Linked DNA regions of Homo sapiens: region 1 is linked to region 2. Evidence: promoter capture Hi-C in human tissues and cell types (Jung and others, 2019). All regions are on one chromosome and are shown on one strand. The core of a region is centred on a gene start or on the middle of the fragment in contact, and the rest is flanking DNA. Distances in the headings are between cores, read along the strand shown. Region 1 overlaps ITSN2 (intersectin 2). Region 2 holds the start of PFN4 (profilin family member 4).

What was found. Contacts are between HindIII fragments. The study calls those that stand out against the background at their distance.
Region 1: a contact is called between a fragment that was not itself captured here and the fragment with the promoter of PFN4 in region 2, in 1 of the 25 tissues and cell types used here (H1 embryonic stem cells).

Annotation. Positions count from the first base shown.
Region 1 is chr2:24,284,077-24,287,396 of GRCh38, forward strand. It overlaps ITSN2 (intersectin 2), which reads right to left. Exons shown (of 40, transcript NM_006277.3): 16 at 2,136-2,275; 17 at 687-767. Among named protein-coding and RNA genes, the nearest start is that of ITSN2, 75 kb to the right of the region's middle. The HindIII fragment of the contact is 4,001 bases long and covers 1-3,320 here.
Region 2 is chr2:24,121,977-24,124,956 of GRCh38, forward strand. It overlaps PFN4 (profilin family member 4), which reads right to left and starts at 1,358. Exons shown (of 5, transcript NM_199346.3): 1 at 1,142-1,358; 2 at 443-571. The coding sequence starts at 559. It overlaps FAM228B (family with sequence similarity 228 member B), which reads left to right and starts at 1,493. Exons shown (of 11, transcript NM_001145710.2): 1 at 1,493-1,557; 2 at 2,354-2,484. The coding sequence starts at 2,386. RefSeq lists a silencer at 1,425-1,924 and an enhancer at 1,995-2,244. The HindIII fragment of the contact is 15,112 bases long and covers 1-2,980 here.

The DNA.
Region 1 (3,320 bases), core at 264-2,763, 160 kb after region 2:
TAGTACTGAGTAAAATGTGTAGTCAAAATCTACTAGAGTCAGCAAGCAGTAAACATAAAGCACATTTCTTTAAGCTCTATTAAAATATTTTTAATAATCTACGTTATACATGGCAAAGAGAAATATTTATATAATTTAAACATTTTTATCTGATGTGCAAGCATGTCTAAATATGAGCCTGGTAACTAGACCTGACTAAAGTTGCCCCTGCATTATTGGTTCTTTAAAATTGTCCTTACAACAGTATTAGGAAGCAGCTTGGTGCATATATGACATAAACTTGCCCTAGATTTCATAAAGTATTAAGTTTTATTTTAAACACTGATTTTCAGTGATATGGGTAAGTGATTTAATCTCACATTTTCCTTTGAATTGAGTTAGTAATCATCTTTATCAGTTAACCCACTCCCAGGGATGTTGTAAAGGAACCAGGTTATATTTCTAAGTGTCCTGGACTTCTTTTGAGAAAGGTTACTGTGACAGGCAACCTTACTGACTTCTGGCATTAGACTCAAACAGGCAGTCAGATAGCAGAAGGATATTCAAGCAAGCAGAAAGAAAAAGGCTTATATTGTATATGTTATTTCAAACAAAGATACTCAGATAAAGGCAAAGAATAGTCTAGTTTTAAAAAAATAAAACAGCAAAGTAACTCAAAGAAAAGAAGCTAGATATTAGAAAATAACCTTAAGTAAGAGGAAGAGGTTGTTGAGACAGCTTAGCAGAGACAAAAGGCACTGAAGAACAGAGTCATCCATATTCCCACACTGTAAGATAAGGCAGATAAAAAGCCAATTAAACTACGTACAGAATTTTTTTTTTTTTTTTTTTTTTTTTTTGAGATGGAGTCTCACTCTGTCGCCAGGCTGGACTGCAGTGGCGCAATCTCAGCTCACTGCAACCTCCACCTCCCGGGTTCAAGCGATTCTCCTGCCTCAGCCTCCCGAGTAGCTGGGACTACAGGCGCATGCCACTACGCCCAGCTAATTTTTGTATTTTTAGTAGAGATGGGGTTTCACCATGTTGCCCAGGCTGGTCTCGATCTCTTGACCTCGTGATCCGCCCGCCTCAGCCTCTCAAAGTGCTGGGATTACAGGCATGAGCCACCATGCCCAGTTATGTAGATTTTTTAAAGAAATAATATAGGGAAGATAAGTTGGCTGGCTTGTCTAACCAGCAATGACAAATGATTTGGTTTTCTATAAAATTTTTTTCTACTGAACATATGCTTGTGTAAAGTGTATTATTAACATTGTTCACCTCAAATTCCCTTTCCTTACCTGAAGCCACCATGTTGTCCTTTCTTTAGCATGCTGTTTACTCTATATTTGCTGTTAATGTTATTCTAAATAAGTCAGCATGATAAAAGCCATATGAAGAGAGAGATTTCTTATACAAAAGCTTTATGAAAAGCTTTATTTCTTACAGAGAATAGCTTATGCTCTGGAAACTTTATATTGTTAGCAAAGGAATAACTGAGACTATTCCCAAATTTACATTCTATGCCATGAGCCTGGGTTTTTAGTTTCTTTCATAGGTATGGCTTCAGTGTACAATGAATACTGTGGTGAATGATATGCAGACAGTCTATGTTTTGGACATCTGCTCTGCCACTGCGGCAAACAATGAATCATTAACTTGCTTTTTGTGCAAAGTTTATAGTGCCAGATTCTGTTCTAGATTTCACTGATTATTGCATTATTTAACAAAGGTTAATTAAATTACACTTCACAAGGAAACAAAATAAAAACTGTGTTAAAAGAGCCACTAACACCTAAACTATTTCAAATTTTCCATATTTCTCATTTTTGAAAATTGCCTAGGATAACGCTGGCTGAGATCAGTTCTGTAATACTGACAAAGGCAATTGTTCTGGAAATGTATAGATGCCAAGACAAACAGCACATAGTCATCAAAAATTGGAAACTGTGATAAAGTATATGTTTAGTTATATGACACTATGTCATATAACTAGAACATTAAAAACAATCTTGAAATTCTTGTATAGTTGAAATTATAAAATAAATTATGAAAATGTAATACATATAATAGCTTTAGCTATTTATTCTATTAAATCAAAATAATGAAGGTAAGAAGGCAGTTACCTAAAAATAAATAGTATCAAAAATAAATACCTTTAGTTGATTGTTAAAAGAATCCATTTCTGACAGCTTAGATGCAGTTTCTTTTTCAAGAGCATCTAACTGTTCTTTAAGTCTTTGGCATAATTCTTCCTTTTCTAATGATTTTTTATGAAGTAAACTGACCCCTGAATCTGAAAAACAAACATCAGACAGTTTACATTTTGCAGAAGTTCGTATGTCATTACCAGCATGTCATTTACTGTTTGGTCAGATTGATGTAACTAGACCAATACGAAGGATGTATACACAATGCAGACCAGTACAAGAGAAAACATTCAGTTGTTATTTCCACTTCCCAGATTATATGCTGGAAAGAGCATCAGAGGAAATGGTTGTAAGCCTTGGTTCTGCATTCAAAAGGACTAGGACCTGAAGTGAAATTCTACTTTAGGAAAGATGCTTCACCAATCGAATCCTCAGGCTTTTCATCTATACAATGAGCATCATGCTACATTAAATGAGGTGATGGATATAAAGCCATTGTACACTCTGGTCCACAGTTAATACTCAATTAATAGAAACTATAGTTAAAGTAGCTTTCCATTTATTCTTAGTGCTCCCAAGAACAGGGAAATATTCACAGCAAAGATTCAGTAAGTATTACTAACTGGATTATTTAGTAACATTATTTTAGGAGGTAAGAACAGAAGGTTTCATTTTATATTATCTTTTTTTACATATTCATGCAGGGATGAAGAAACCAGATGGAAATATATAATGCAGAATACATTACAATAAATTAAAATAGCAATATTATCTGTTTAAATGTCTGTTTTTAACTTTATCATATTTTTGAAGTACAGAAGTACAAAATTTAAATAAAATGAAACATACAGAGTAAAAAATTAAAACACCTCCATTTCAACTGCAAGTTCATCCCCCTTTTAGGCATTTACATTTAGATGTGTACATACTCAACTTTTATTTCCATGGGTTTTAACAGAATCATATTGTCTACATTGCTATGCAACTTGTTTTCAATTTAGTAAGATATCTTATCAATCAGGACAAACAGATCTAGTTCATTCTTTTAAATTGCTCCATAGTAGTTTACATTATGGCTACTGCATAATTTATATAACTACCTTTCTGACTGGTATGGGTAGATGTTGGTCTGAACCCACTGATCAACATCTACCCATTTTCCCCTCCCTCTAACCCCTGGTAACCACTCTT
Region 2 (2,980 bases), core at 108-2,607:
AAAGACTAAGCCTAGAAACCTAAAATATTTATGTAGCTCTTTACAGAAAAAGTTCATTTAAAAGTCATGTCTGGGCTGGGCACGGTGGCTCATGCCTGTAATCCCAGCACTTTGGGAGGCCGAGGCAGGTGGATCACCTGAGGTTAGGAGTTTGAGACTAGCCTGACCAACATGGTAAAACACCATCTCTACTAAAAATACAAAAATTAGCCGGGCCTGGTAGCGCACTCCTGTAATCCCAGCTACTCGGGAGGCTAAGGCTCAAGAATCGCTTGAGAGGCGGAGGTTGCAGTGAGCTGAGATCATGCCATTGCATCCCAGGCTAAGCAACAAGAGTGAAATTCCGTCTCAAAAAAAAAAAAAAGTCATGTCTGCTTCATTTTTTGGAAGAATAGAAATAATAAGTAAATCAAGTCTTAGGTCCAAACTTGTTTTTTCTTACATTGAAACCTGGTGATGCTACACACAAGCTCCGCTCCTGGATTTTGATGAGGGCTGCACTGTCCACATGCTTGGTTCCCAAGAGGGTGTCTAACAATAAGCTCTGCAAATGGCTCATGTTCCCTCAACTCTGAAAGGGAAAGTGCAGTTGAAGCCATTGACTCTGGCTAGCTTTTAAAAGGCATGTGAATACAAATGTCCTTAAGACACTGCAGACAGTTCTAAGATCAGCAAGTGTACTTTGAAAAGGTACAGGGTGAAAACGGTGGTCCATCATTCAGGGCCCACCAGTACCCAAAGAGGAAAACAGAATCATAGAAAAATCACAGCTCACACAGAATAGGTTATGAAGCTGAGTTTGGAAAATCACAGCCTGGTGATTTTCTGGCTATGTCAATGGTTTACATCAGGATTATCTGCGATTTAAAAACAAACATTACACACTGAGAAAAACTCTGTAAAATAAAAAATAAAAACAAAAAACAAAACCCAGCCAGGATGGAGAGCTACCCTGCTAAGTTAAACACGACTAAAAGAGATTATGCGTGGCCATAAACCCACACATTCCCTTCCCGGTGACCTGCATCAGCGCCAGCTATGAACGCTGATCAACATCCCAATGGACTAAAAACACCTTGAAGGCACTTAAACCCACATTTCCCGCACAAGTCCCCAAGCCTTGGACCCCCCTCATCAGGACCTCCGGCACAGGCGCCCGTTTCCCGCCACTGCCTTCCAGTGGTTTGGTCCCCGAGCAGGACCCAAGGCGGGGCAGGGGGTGGTGAGCGGTGAATTCCCTGGCACCGAGGACTCGAGGGAGCGGACGCCACCCCGCTCTGTGGTGCCCGCAAGGACCCGGCGACCAAGGACCCGACCGTCAACGGACGCGGTTGCGGGTGGGTGGCGGCGGCAGGATTGGCCGGGCCACGCGCCGGTCACCGAGAAGCAGCGACTCCAGCCCCTTCCGCAAACCAAGACCCGCCACCTAGAGCCGCCGCCCAATCCCCTTTGGGCCTGAAGCCGTCCTCCGCCGCCCCGGCACCGCCCGCGCGGACTCGCTGTGGAACCCGCGGCGCAGGGGGCGGAGTGCTCGCGCGGCGCTGCGTCCGGGAGACGGTGGGCGCCAACATTCGCGCGTTCCGCAGACGCGGGCGGGCTCCCTTCCAGCCGCAGTCGGACGGCTCCGGGGTCGTCGGGCCGGGCCCGAGTGTGTAGCAGGACGGCCGCGGGCCTGCTGGCCTTGGGAGGGCAGAGAGGTGCCTGTCGCGGCCGGCGACCTCCCCGCCAGGCCGGGCGGTCCCCGCGCACGACGCGCCTGCGCGGGAGGCCCCCGGCCCGGGGCTGGCGTGGAGGCCGCAGGCGCCCGGCCTAGTGGGTGGGAGGAAGGGCCGGGAGTGGGCGCGATGAGCGAGAGCGGGTGCGGACGCCTACGACATCCCCGTCGCACCCGTGCCTCGGGGAGGACTTCGAGCCGCTCAGAGCTCGAAGACTCGCGCAGTATGACCGAAAGCCCCTCCCTGCCTTCTCTAAGCAGCTCAGCCTGTGTTTCTGTGGCCAGAAAGTTGCAGTTCTTCCCACTCGAGGCCACCAAAGTCAGAAAAGTGTTGCAAATGGGACTCCGAGAGGCCAGGCTGAAGCTGCCACACTGGCTGGAATGGGCTGCCTTGGAGGGGGACGTGGGAATCCATTCCAAGGGACGGGGGATTCTTTCAAAGAGCATCTCGCCTGCTTATAAAGGAGGCTGGCTCTGAAGCCGTCATCTGGAGTCTGTAGTGAAGGCCTCTTGTTAGGGAAACTGGATGGTTAGTGTTCAAAATCCATTTTGCGTGTGTGCAAGGACACAGGTGGTATTAAACAGAAGAGAAAATCAGATGACTGTGAAATGTTCAATACTAAATAAGATGATTTTTAGTTTTTCCAGGGGCATTGTTATTTGTGACCACAATGAAAAATGTAGACAGTGATGATCTGGTAACTGGCACACTTCCCAAGCTCAAGAGCTCAAAAGAATGGTTGGAGCCCAAGCCCCTTTGTTTTATGGAGGTATATATCAAATAGTGTGGGATTTGGAGATTTTTTTACTTGGATCGTTGCAGTAGGAAGTGGCTTGTGCTAAATATATTGTTTTTTCTATTGTTTGTTTTTATTTCATTCTGTTTATTATTCCCTTCACTTTACTAACTTTGTATATTCACTTTGCTGTTTTTTTCTAACATCTTAAGGTGGAATCATAGGTCATTGATTATATACCTTTTAAAATGTAACATAGCTATAAGTTTCTCTTGAGGTACTGCCTTAGCTGCATCACCCAAATTTTGATATGATGTATTTATTTATTTATTTATATTTGAGACAGGGTCTTGCTATGTTTCCTCCTGGAATCAAGCCATCCTTCCACTCCCTAGTAGCTGGAAGTATAGGCGCACGCCACCATGTCTGGCTAATTTTTGTATTTTCTGTAGAGATACAAAAAATCTCTACACTGTGTCGCCTAGGCTGGTCCCCAACTCCTGAGCTCAAGCAATCCACCTACCGTGGT